Linked DNA regions of Homo sapiens: all the other regions are linked to region 2. Evidence: promoter capture Hi-C in 16 types of primary human blood cells and fetal thymus (Javierre and others, 2016). All regions are on one chromosome and are shown on one strand. Each heading gives the region's core, a stretch centred on a gene start or on the middle of the fragment in contact. The rest is flanking DNA. Distances are from core to core; before and after follow the strand shown. Region 1 overlaps PSMB2 (proteasome 20S subunit beta 2). Region 2 holds the start of C1orf216 (chromosome 1 open reading frame 216). Region 3 overlaps PSMB2 (proteasome 20S subunit beta 2).

Region 1 (3,665 bases), core at 519-3,018, 110 kb before region 2:
CTTAAAAAACTCATGGTTTTTGCTTTTTTTGGGGGGAGGGGTTGGGAGGGGAGTAACAGGCTTTTGTTCTGTCGCCCAGGCTGGAGTGCAGTGGTGCAATCATAGCTCGCTGCAGCCTCAAACTCCTAGGCTCAAGTGAATTTCCCACCTCAGCCTCCTGAGCAGCTACGACTATAGGCACCTACCACCATGCCCTGCTGATTTATTATTATTTTTTTAAGAGATGAAGTCTTGGCCGGGCACGGTGGCTCATGCCTGTAATCCCAGCACTTTGGGAGGCCGAGGCGGGCAGATTACTTGAGGTTAGGAGTTTGAGACCAGCCTGGCCAACATGGTGAAATATTGTCTCTACGAAAAATACAAAAATTAGCCATGCGTGGTGGCACGAGCCTATAATCCCAGCTACTTGGGAGGCTGAGGCATGAGAATCGCCTGAACCTGGGAGGCAGAGGCTGCAGTGAGCCGAGATAGTGCTACTGCACCACTCCAGCCTGGGCAATAGAGCAAGACTCTATCTCCAAAAAAAAAAGGAGAGAGAGAGAGAGAGAGATGGGGTCTCACTATGTTGCCCAGGCTGGCCTTCAACTTCTAGGCTCAAGTAATCCTTCCACCTTGGCCTCCCAAAGTGCTGGGATGACAGTCTTGAGCCACCGTGCCTAGCATGAAACTCATATTATATACTTACTTGGAATTCTAAGCCAGCTGTGCTAAGTAGAAAGGGTTCCTAACATCGCCTGGAGATTACAGAGTAGTCCTCACCTCCAAATAAGTTTCTGTTTTAGTGATAGGACAGTGGGTAGTCCCAGAGAGAAATAAGTTGACCAGCAGTCAAGACTTCTGAGAAAATAATTATCTGCCTATTGTATTTCCCAATGAGTAGCGTGCGGCACTCTGCCAAGCTCTGGAATTCTCTGTGCATTCTGAGTACCTTCTTAGTAAAGCTGACCTTAGGCAAAAAACTTAACCCCTATGAGCTTCTGGGTTTTTTTTTTTTTAACATGTAAAACTGGGTTAATTAATCTTTCTCCTTTCTATCTTCTAGGAAATATAATGAGAAAAAATAATAACGGTAAAACAACCCAAACTCTGGAAGAAAAGATGCTACCAAAATTCCTACTACATAACTACATCCCAGTCTCTTTTTGAAAGCTTATCACTTTAAACAACAACAAACCTGCTTAAATTAGCTACAGATTTTAAAAATGCTATTAGTTATATATAAGTGTGAAAACAGTACTGCAAAATCTGGCAGACATAGAATACCTTGGTGTTCTTACAGTTAAAATTAGAAGAGAGAAAGAGGGAGGAAAAGAGGCAGAATAGCAAAGAGAAACTGGTATCCCTCCCCAAGAGAATTAATAATACAGTCTTTTACCTATCACAAAGTAAGTTAAATCTTTTTGCTAAGAGGATAATCTCTACTCTTCTCTACTAACTAGCCAGAACACTCACTGTATACTTAGCCAAGACAATTTCATCAAGTTGCAATGGTATATTAAGTATTCCCCCAGATACTCAAAGAGGCCTTGTTAGAACCCAGATGTTTTGTCTTCAATGAAGATCTTGTCCATACTATGAGATTAAATTGTTTAGAACAATAAATGTTATTTAAAATCCACTACCAGAAAATTTTAGATGAAATAGGATGTCAACAGAATTTCAGAAGCAAACTCCATCACTTAATTGGTCTATATAGTATCATTTACTCATGCTTAGGCATCTGACGCACACATATACTTACCAAAGTTGGTATTCAGAAGCTACAACTCCTGGTATTGAAGATAACTCACAAATTATTGTGTGACTTTGAATTACCAACTTTTGCATGTGTGAGATGCTTAAGCATAAATAAATGGTGTTATCTAGACTAATTAAATCAATACATCTGTGCAACAACTTGCAGTTTGTAAAATTCTTCTGACAATGCTCCACCAAAGATCTCTGGCTTGGCTGAGCACAGTGGCCCATGCCTGTAATCCCGCACTTTGGGAGGCCAAGGTGAGAGGACTGCTTGAGCCTAGGAGTTCAAGACCAGTGTAGGCAAGATGGCAAGACCCTGTCTCTATGGGAAAAAAAAAAAAAAATCTAGGTTAGGGGGCTACTTGGAAGGCTGAGGCAGGAGGATCCTTAAGCCCCGGCATACAGTGAACTATGATCCCCCCACTGTACTACAGACTGACTAGCAACAGAGTAAGACCCTATTTCTACCAAATAAAAAGAAAAGTCACTAAACAAATGTGAGAAAGCAATAAGTGCTACTTCTGAGAAGTGGTTCAAGTTTAAGTCAACTGCCAGCATCTCCATGAATGTACATCTATTGTTGCTTTTTGCTAGGCTTGGGTCCTTCTCTTTCTACCTCCCTCTAGACACAGGGTGCTAAGTAAAGAAAAGCTTAGGATACAGGCCAGGCATTCAGAACTGAACAAAGAGGAGACCAATAGCATAAATAAATAAGAAAGAGTTGGGCTGTGACTTTAGAAAAGTTAGTCATTTAATCTCTCTGAATTTTAATTTCTCATTTAAAACATGGGATGATCCCTACTACAAAAGGGTTGCTGCAGTGAGGATTCCAAAAGATAATGCATGTGGATAATAAGTGTAATGCCCGAAACAGTAAAGACTCTATAAACAATGCAAGTACTCAGGAGAAGCCCAACTACTTCTGGCACTGAGATACGAGGGAAATTCCTATGTGTCTTCATAAAGGGATATGGAAGGATGTTAGTGCCCAGCACAGTGCCTGACACATGGTAGAAAAGCAGTCAGTAAATGAGTTTCCTCCTCTCTCATTCCTGGGACTCTTTCCAGGGGCCCTAGGGTAATGGTGTTCAGTGTCACAAGCATTTGTACTAGACACGTAGAGCATATCTACTTCATGGTCAACCCTCCCTAACCATGTCATTTCTTCCCTTCCAAATGTGTCTACTCTGAGTGGTAAAGCTACTTTCTAGACAGTTTTTCATCAGTTCCCTTAGTTCCCCATGATGTTACATACTTAAGGATTTGCCTAATTATCTGGGGAAATGAAAACATTAATCAATAATGAGAGCACTGCCAGTGATCCTCTTGACAAAGAATCTCTTACAAAGTAATCCTTCGCAAAGATTACCAAGAATCTTTTAAAATGAAATCTCTATTCTGTACATGATATAATCTAGCCTTTGGTTGTCTCCACTATTCTAATTGTTTAGATAGTAAGTCTAAGTAGTAAGACAAAGTTTTGAGGTCCCCAAGGGGAAGAACTGCAACATACAAGACTAGGCTTCTTCCACACCATAAGCTAAGACTGAACATTATATATAGTATTGAATTAACCTAAATATCCAAACATTCATCCAAGTGAACCCAAACATTTAGCTAAGATACTCTCTACCCAAAGGTCTTGGCAATCACCATCAATGGTCTGCAATGCAAACACCAACATGTTTAAAGTTGTGTCTAATTGATATACAAAGAAAAAATTTTAAATGAACCAGCCTGGGAATTCAGAATGAACTTCAGCTTCTAGCATGAGGTACCACCAAAATTTTGCCTCTTAATAGAAGGCAGTGAGGGTGGGGTGAGGACGAAACTAGACAAATGTATCTTTTCCTCCTTTAATGAGTACATGAGTTTATTTTCACAGTGAAGTGCATTTAGGTCATTTTGAGATTTCTTCATCTGTA
Region 2 (3,941 bases), core at 157-2,656:
ACCCAGCAAATTCCTTTTTGTACTTCAAAATTAGCTGTAATATCCCCATGTTTCCATGTCCCCATGTCTCTGAAGCCGTCTTGATACTGCCCCAATCAATATTACATAAACAAGCACGGTTAGTTATGCCTTCCTCTGGGTCCCCACTGCGCTGGGTATACACTGTCTTATCCAACTTTGCATCCGTCCCTGGCATACATGGTCGACGATCAGTGAATGTCTATTCAACTGGCATTTTTGGTTTGTGGTAATGATCTTGTAATAGCAGTTTGTAATCTGGCTTGGACCTCCTGTATATATCCTCCATCATATTCCCCAGAGTCAGCCAGCATAGAGCCCTGAACCAGGCTGTCTGTGCATACAGGTACTTGCTAAGTGAGTGAATGGGAGAAGAGACTGCAGTGAATTTCCATGCTCAGGAATCCACTCTTGACTCCCCAGGGCTGGAAGAGCTGGGTTCTGGAAGAGCTGGGTTTGGTTCCCTTTCCTACCCCAGCCAGGGAGCCCCGCCTTCCCCAGTGACAAGCTTTTCTTCTGAGCCTGCCCCCTTCCCTCCCAATGCCTCTGGAACACAGCCACTATCTTGCGGTCCCCGTCCCTAGCTTGCTCCATTCTGAGGCCCTGGAGGGAGGGCATACCACACCACTCTTCTCTCCTCCATAACCTGCTTCTAACCAAAATTAGGATTTGAACTGACAAAGGGATTCTACTGACCAAACAGCACTGGGATTAGAACAATTGAAGAGCATGAAGAGGAAGGGTATTGTAAGTGGAGCCGGCACTGGAAGGCGCTCCATAGGTGGCATGGACCCTCCCCACCCCCAGCAATGGGCAGAGAAGTCCTGGGGAGAAGGGTGTAGGAACAGTTCGTTTCTAATCGCCCTCTAAGCAAGGCTTGTGGGAAGGTGCCTAGAGATCTCCCCTCGCCCCAATTTTTTATTTTTCCTATACTTGGATGGGGCCGTGAAGGAAGCTGGGATGGGGTGGGGGTGGCGCTAGGGATCACAGGGTTCTCAGAGATAGTAAAATGAGAACCCCGACACGCCAGGACTAGGTCTCCGCCCAAACAGGAGGCAGCCTCCTTTTCTGGCCTTGCGGGAGTGGGAGACCACCCCAGGAGACAGAGACCATCCTTCCCTAGTCTCCTCGAAGGAGGCCACTGTGACTCCCCGCTTCCCGCGGCTGAGCCCCAAGCCCCACCCCGCCTCGGGCCCCAGACTCGGACTCACGGCGTAGAGGCGCCCGCTCCGGCGCGTCTGGCTCTGGCTCCGCCCGGCCCTGGTGGTGTCTAGTCCCTGGGCTGGGGGTTCCTCGGCCTGGGCGTCTCCGCGGTCCAGGCGTGGGTGCGGGGCTCCCGGGCAGCGCGCCCAGCCCCAGTCCCGGACTGCGGAGTCAGGCGGCGTCTGCGCAGCAGGGCGGAGCGACCGGTCCCACGTGGGCCGGTTCGGTTTTCCGCGGAGCCCCGCGCCAGGCCCCTGCGCCGGAACCGCTTCGCCCCCGCGCGGGGCCGCGTTGACCCAGGCCTTCCAGGTCCGGTGCTCTCTCCTATTGGCATTCGCTGGGCCCTTCCCATCAGTTAGCCTCGCTGCAGACACCGTGCCATTTTCAAGTGAAATCTGATTAGTCACCACCTTCCGGCGTTAAACTCCTCAATGGCTTCCCCACCGCCGGGACAACCCCTAAGGCGGTAGCCGCGGGGCTCTGTGCGTCCTGCCCTTCGTCTGCCTCTCCGGCTTCGTCCTCTACCCTCCCTCTCCGCAGTTACCCTCCCACACGCCCCTTTCCGCCACGCGGCTTTGGCACGCACTGTTCCCTCGGTCTAGCATTCTCTTCCCCCTCTCGACTTACTCCTATTTCAGATCTCTTCTCGGAGAGATCTCTGACTCCCTAGATCACGTTCGTTCCCCCCTTTATGTCAGAGCACATTCCTTTTCTTCATAGCATTTATCACAATTTGGAATTATATATTCCTTTTTGTGCTTACTTGACTAAAGTCACTGAGGCCGGGTGCGGTGGCTCACGCCTGTAACCCCAGCACTTTGGGAGGCCGAGGCGGGCAGATAACCTGAGGTCAGGAGTTTGAGACCAGCCTGGCCAACATGGTGAAACCCCATCTCTACTAAAAATACAAAAATTAGCCGGGCTTGGTGGCGGGCGCCTGTAATCCCAGCTACTTGGGAGGCTGAGGCAGGAGAATCGCTTGAACCTGGGAGGTGGAGGTTGCAGTGAGCCAAGACTGCACCACTGCACTCCAGTCTGGGCAACAGAGTGGGACTCCGTCTCAAAAAAAAAAAAAAAAAAAAAAAAAAAAAGAGAGAGAGAGAAAGAAGATCCAAGCCTGGGACAGGGCTCAGGGCTGATGTCCTGTACCCGGGACGGGGGCTCTCCGCAGGACACAGAGCCCACCCATGATGCCTGTGAAGTGGGTACCAGTGCTTTTGCCCAGGTGAGGAGGAACAGCGTGATAAAAAAGGGTCTTGGGTTCCAAACTCCAGTGGATTCTTCTCAGAGCTCCACTCTACTGAAGCTTGACCCCCCTCACTCTTTTGCACCCTGGGGAAATGTGAAGTTGGGGGCCCTGTTTGGAATAAAAGAGAACAGAGTTCAGTAATTGCTGACCCTAATATATGAGGTGCCCTCTTCCAGTTTCAATTTGATTCCAAGTCACCATTCTGCAACCTAGAGACTAATTGGCAAATTAAATCACACCAAGAAATCCTATATGCAAAAACAGGGAAAATGGAAAAGAAATTTTTATGATTATGATGACTATTTTAAAAGGGAAAAGGAAATAAGAAGGAGAAGGCAGAAGTAATTCAAACTTTGCACACTCCTCCAGCTAAGAAAATACAGGTGGAGACGTCAGCCCCATTTCTACATCAGATCCTGTGGCCTAAGTCTTCTCCCTTCCCTTATCCACTTCAGGTTCCCCTGGCCTTCAGCCTGGGGTGACCCAAATCCTCACTTTTTTTTTTTTTTTTTTTTTTTTTGAGATGGAGTCTCGCTCTGTCGCCTAGGCTGGAGTGCAGTGGCGCAATCTCGGCTCACCGCAACCTCCACCTCCCGGGTTCAAGCGATTCTCCTGCCTCAGCCTCCTGAGTAGCTGGGATTACAGGTGCATGCATCACGTCAGCTAATTTTTGTATTTTTAGTAGAGATGGGGTTTCACCATGTTGGTCAGGTTGGTCTTGATCTCCTGACCTTGTGATCCACCCACCTCGGCCTCCCAAAGTGCTGGGATTACAGGCGTGAGCCACCATGCCTGGCCCAAATCCTCACTCCTAAAGGCTCTCAGCTTTGGTGATCTAGGGTTATGCAGTTCTGCCCAGACCACAGAGCCATAAAGTCATCAATTGTTTGTTCTGCCCAGAATAGCCCTTCTCCGCCTCTCTTTGGACTCTGTCTCTCCCAGCTTAACCATGTGGGTCAAATGAAAGCCTGAAGAATCCAGGGATAGGAGCTCCACTCCAGGTGAGCCAGTCAGAGTCCTTCTCTGGGATCTTCTGAAACGAAATTAAAGGAAGACGAGGCAGGGAAGAAACAGAGATGAGAGATAGTTCTGATAATGTTGCAGACCCTGTTTCCTGCATCTAAACTTATAGTTTTGTATGCCTTATTTTGCCAAGCCTAACTTGAGTGGAATTTCTTTCACCGACAATTGAAAGAATGCTGATTACTACAATAGCACAAGGTGGTGACCCCAGGGTCTCTGGGTTCCATTCACGCACCTCTCAACACTTATTAGGTAACAGTAACTCCCTTTCTCCTTGGTAGCCATGATCAGTCCAGTCTACACTGAGACCACCCCCTTCTCCTATTCCTCTAGTGCTACCAGGAGCCGAAATCCCAGGGAATCATCTTTGTGTTTCTTGGTTAGAAGAAACATTCCTCCCATGATGCTATCACCATGTTTTGTTTTGTTTTTTTCCCAAGACAGAGTT
Region 3 (3,968 bases), core at 1-2,500, 86 kb before region 2:
CCCCTGTTCCTAAAGCCCACCATCTTTTGTACACTCAGAGTAAACAAAGCATAGACTGAGGGGTACAATCCTACTCTAGTCCCTTTCCTCATGCAACAGCTATGAAATAGCTGGTTAGTACTGACAGCAATTCTTGGCCACAAACAGAACCAGTTCTATAGTGGAATGAAACTTCTAGCAGCCTTGCTTAAACTATTCATTCATCAACACACTGTGGTTTCTGCCGTAGAAGGAAAGGAACACGAATACACAAGAAGTGAAAAAAAAAGAAAGGCGTCTTAGATGCCAATCTTTTAAAAGTTTATTTTAAAAAGGATATTGGGGGCCAGTCACAGTGGCTCATGCCTGTAATCCTAGAGCTTTGGGAAGCCAAGGTGGGAAGATCGCTTGAGCCCAGGAGTTTGAGACTAGCCTGGGCAACATAGTGAGACCCCCATCTCTAAAAAAAATTTTTTTTTAAATTTCTAGGCATGGTGGTACATGCCTGTAATCCCAGCTACTTAGGAGGCTGAGTGGAGAGGATCAATTGACCCCAGAAGTTCAAGTGAGTTATGACTGTGCCACTGCACTACAGCATGGGTGACAGAGCAAGACCCTGTCTCTAAAAAAACGAAAACAGGAACAAAAAGGATATTGGGAAAAGAGAGGCTAGAAGTTAGGACTACCTCAGAGTCATAGTTTATTAAAAAAATATTTTAAATGTTACTTTATTAAGAAGTATAATATGACTTTCAAAAGTATAAGCCACAGAAAAAGAACATTTCCATCATTCTGCAGTATTTTTAAAAATAGAGTATCTCAAGTGTTAAAACTTCAAAAATAAAAGTTGTCATACCAACAAAGGTACAACCCAGAGGAATAGCATCAGGTGTGCATGTAATAACGCATTCACTTTGGAGCTTAATCCCCCTGTAGAATGGGACCAGTGCCAAAAGGCACAAGAATGATCCATAACTCAGTGGGCCCACACAGAAAATGTCAGTATGGAAAGACACACAGCAGTGTGGTTAAGTAATTGCTTACAACATTTCAAATACCACTGTCAAATTAGGAGAGATTCAGATTCAAATCCTAACAAATATTTATTGAGCAGCAACTATGTTTCAGGGTCTATGCTGAGTGTTTTCACATGTATTATTGTACTTTATCCTCACAAGTCTATTAGTGCATATTAAATCATAATGAAAGCAATCCTTGGCCAGGTGCAGTGGCTCATGCCTGTAATCACAGCACTTTGGGAAGCGGAGGCAGGCAGATCACTCGAGCCCAGGAGTTTAAGACCATTCTGGGCAACATGATGAAACCCCGTCTCTACTAAAAATATAAAAATTAGCCAGGGGTGGTGGTGCACACCTGTTTTCCCAGGTAGTTGGGAGGCTGAGGTGGAAGGATCACCTGAGCCTGGGAATTCGAGGCTGCAATGAGCCATGATTGTGCCACTGCACTCCAGCCCAGGCGACAGGAGTGAGACCCTGTCTCAACAACAACAACAAAAATAATAATAATAATTTAAAAAAAGAGGCCAGGCACAGTGGCTCACACCTGTAATCCCAGAACACTTTGGGAGGCCCAGGTGGGTGGATCACCTGGGGACAGGAGTTTAAGACCAGCCTGGCCACCATAGCGAAACTCTGTCTCTACTTAAAATACAAAAAATTAGCCAGGCATGGCGGTGCATGCCTATAATCCCAACTACTCAGGAGGCTGAGGCACGAGAATCACTTGCACCCAGGAGCTGGAAGTTGCAGTGGGCTGAGACTGCACCACTGCACTCCAATCTGAGCAACAGAACGAGACCCTGACTCAAAAAAGAAAAAAAAAAAAAAAGAAGGAACCTAGACAAGTGGGAATACTATTCAATTCTTTACTTAACCCCCTAAACACCACTGAAGATCTGACCATTATCCTAAAGGCAGAAAAGTCATGCCTGATTATCTGCATATAGATTTTCTCTTTCTTTCCCTTATTTTAGCTCAGTTCTTTAACTTATATAAGAATTACTATATAGAGTTACATACACAAAACTGTACTTGGCAGGTAATTTAAGGGTCTTTAAGGGCAATTTTAACCAAACACAGTTTTTGTCTGTGCACTGACTTTAGACCCTAAAACCCAGTAACAAACAACTCTTGCTACTCTTGTTCACTCTTCTCCCTCTCTCAGGACAGCCAGTGAAGTCATACAGTACCTACTGGACTTCAGAAGCATTACTGACATACTTCATTTGTTATGCAGGCAAAAAGTGGAACCACTGGAAAAAAAAGCAGAATTCTTGAAATATTCTAAACCTGCATAAACCTAAGTACCATGTACTTTATGTTCCTGAATGTCAGGACTAAGCCTTATTCATCTTTGAATTCTCTTAAGTATTAAGCAGAATGCTTACCATAGAAGAGGCCCTCAAAAGTATTTATGGAATTGAATACAAATGCTAAATCCACTGCCCAAACTATGTGAATAGATCTTTGGTCATTTTACACATGCAAGTATATTCAAATTAACTTCCTTCATAGCTCCATATTATACCAGTGCAGTGTATAACGTTGTTATTGAACTGTGAGGTAAGTGGAAATAAGGTTTTCTCTGCCAGACCACCACTACAAACATTCCTGGATCAGAGGCCTAGTGGCTAGTATCGTTTGCTAGGGAGGTTTTCCCAGTGGATAAGAGTTCATTAGCCCCAGAGAGAGCTCACAAAATACTTCACAAAAGTCTTAATTATCTCTCTAGAAGGAAACCTACCAGAGAGTAAGGCAGAACCCTTTTATGGCACAGTAAATACTTATAGTTAGTTACACAATGCTTTAGGTTTACAAAATATTTTCATATGTATTATTCATTAGTATTATAATTCATTTCAGAGATAAGGAAAATAAAGTCCCAGAGAAGATAAATGACTTATCACATAAAAAATAGTAAAGCCAAGGTTTACTTAGGTTTTTTGACGCTGAGATTCAGATTTTTTTGTTTCTTTGTTTTGAGACAGGGTCTCACTCTGTCGCACAGGCTGGAGTGCAGTGGCACTATCATGGCTCACTGAGACCTTGAACTCCTGGGCTCAAGTGATCTTCCCACTTCAGCTTCCTGAGTAGCTGGGACTATGGGTGTGCACCACTGCACCCAGGTAAATATTTTTATTTTTTATAGAGCCAGGGTCTTGCTTTGTTGCCTAGGCTGGTTTCAAACTCCTGACCTCAAGTGATCCTCCCATCTCAGCCTCTCAAAAGTGCTGGGATTACAGGTGCTAGCCACTGTGCCTGGCCAGGTTCAGATACTTTTAAACTCAAACCACATCCTCTGAGATATCTAACACTTAAAAAGTCTGATACTACCATCCCTACCTCCAAGATGGTGTTGGGTTTTTTTTTTTTTGGTTGGTTTAAAAAAATTTTTTTTAGAGACAGAGTCTTGCTGCCTTCCAGAGTACAGTGGCACAATCATAACTCACTGCAGCCTCGACCTCCTGGGCTCAAACGATCTTCCTGCCTCAGCCTCCTGAGTAGCTAGGGCTATAGGTGCATGCCACCACACTCAGCTAATTTTTAAAAACTTTTTTGTAGAAGGCCGGGCGTGGTGGCTCACACCTGTAATCCCAGAACTTTGGGAGGCCGAGGTGGGCAGATCATCTGAGGTCATGAGTTTGAGACCAGCCTGACCAACATGGAGAAACCCTGTCTCTACTAAAAATACAAAATTAGCCAGGCGTGGTGGCACATGCCTGTAATCCCAGCTACTTGGGAGGCTGAGGCAGGAGGATTGCTTGAACCTGGAAGGCAGAGGTTGCGGTGAGCCGAGATTGTGCCACTGCACTCCAGCCTGGACAACAAGAGTGAAACTCCATCTCAAAAAAAAAAAAAATTTTTTTTTTTTTTGTAGAGATGAGGTGTCACTACATTGCTCAGGCTAGTCTTAAACTCCTGGTCTCAAGTGATCCTCCCACCTTGTCCTCCCCAATTGCTGGGATTACA

The links. Contacts are between HindIII fragments. The CHiCAGO score rates a contact against its expected background, and 5 or more counts as called.
Region 1: a fragment that was not itself captured here is called in contact with the fragment with the promoter of C1orf216 in region 2 in 3 of 17 cell types (endothelial precursors, megakaryocytes and M1 macrophages); the score reaches 5.9 in endothelial precursors.
Region 3: a fragment that was not itself captured here is called in contact with the fragment with the promoter of C1orf216 in region 2 in 1 of 17 cell types (megakaryocytes); the score reaches 8.7 in megakaryocytes.

Annotation. Positions count from the first base shown.
Region 1 is chr1:35,611,309-35,614,973 of GRCh38, forward strand. The region is part of intron 3 of PSMB2 (proteasome 20S subunit beta 2); the gene reads right to left. Among named protein-coding and RNA genes, the nearest start is that of PSMB2, 28 kb to the right of the region's middle. The HindIII fragment of the contact is 1,242 bases long and covers 1,148-2,389 here.
Region 2 is chr1:35,717,478-35,721,418 of GRCh38, forward strand. It overlaps C1orf216 (chromosome 1 open reading frame 216), which reads right to left and starts at 1,407. Exons shown (of 2, transcript NM_152374.2): 1 at 1,230-1,407. It also overlaps a transcript of CLSPN not described here. RefSeq lists silencers at 1,139-1,568, 3,231-3,525. The HindIII fragment of the contact is 2,001 bases long and covers 525-2,525 here.
Region 3 is chr1:35,631,416-35,635,383 of GRCh38, forward strand. All of the region lies in intron 2 of PSMB2 (proteasome 20S subunit beta 2), which reads right to left. Among named protein-coding and RNA genes, the nearest start is that of PSMB2, 8.1 kb to the right of the region's middle. The HindIII fragment of the contact is 9,875 bases long and covers 1-3,968 here.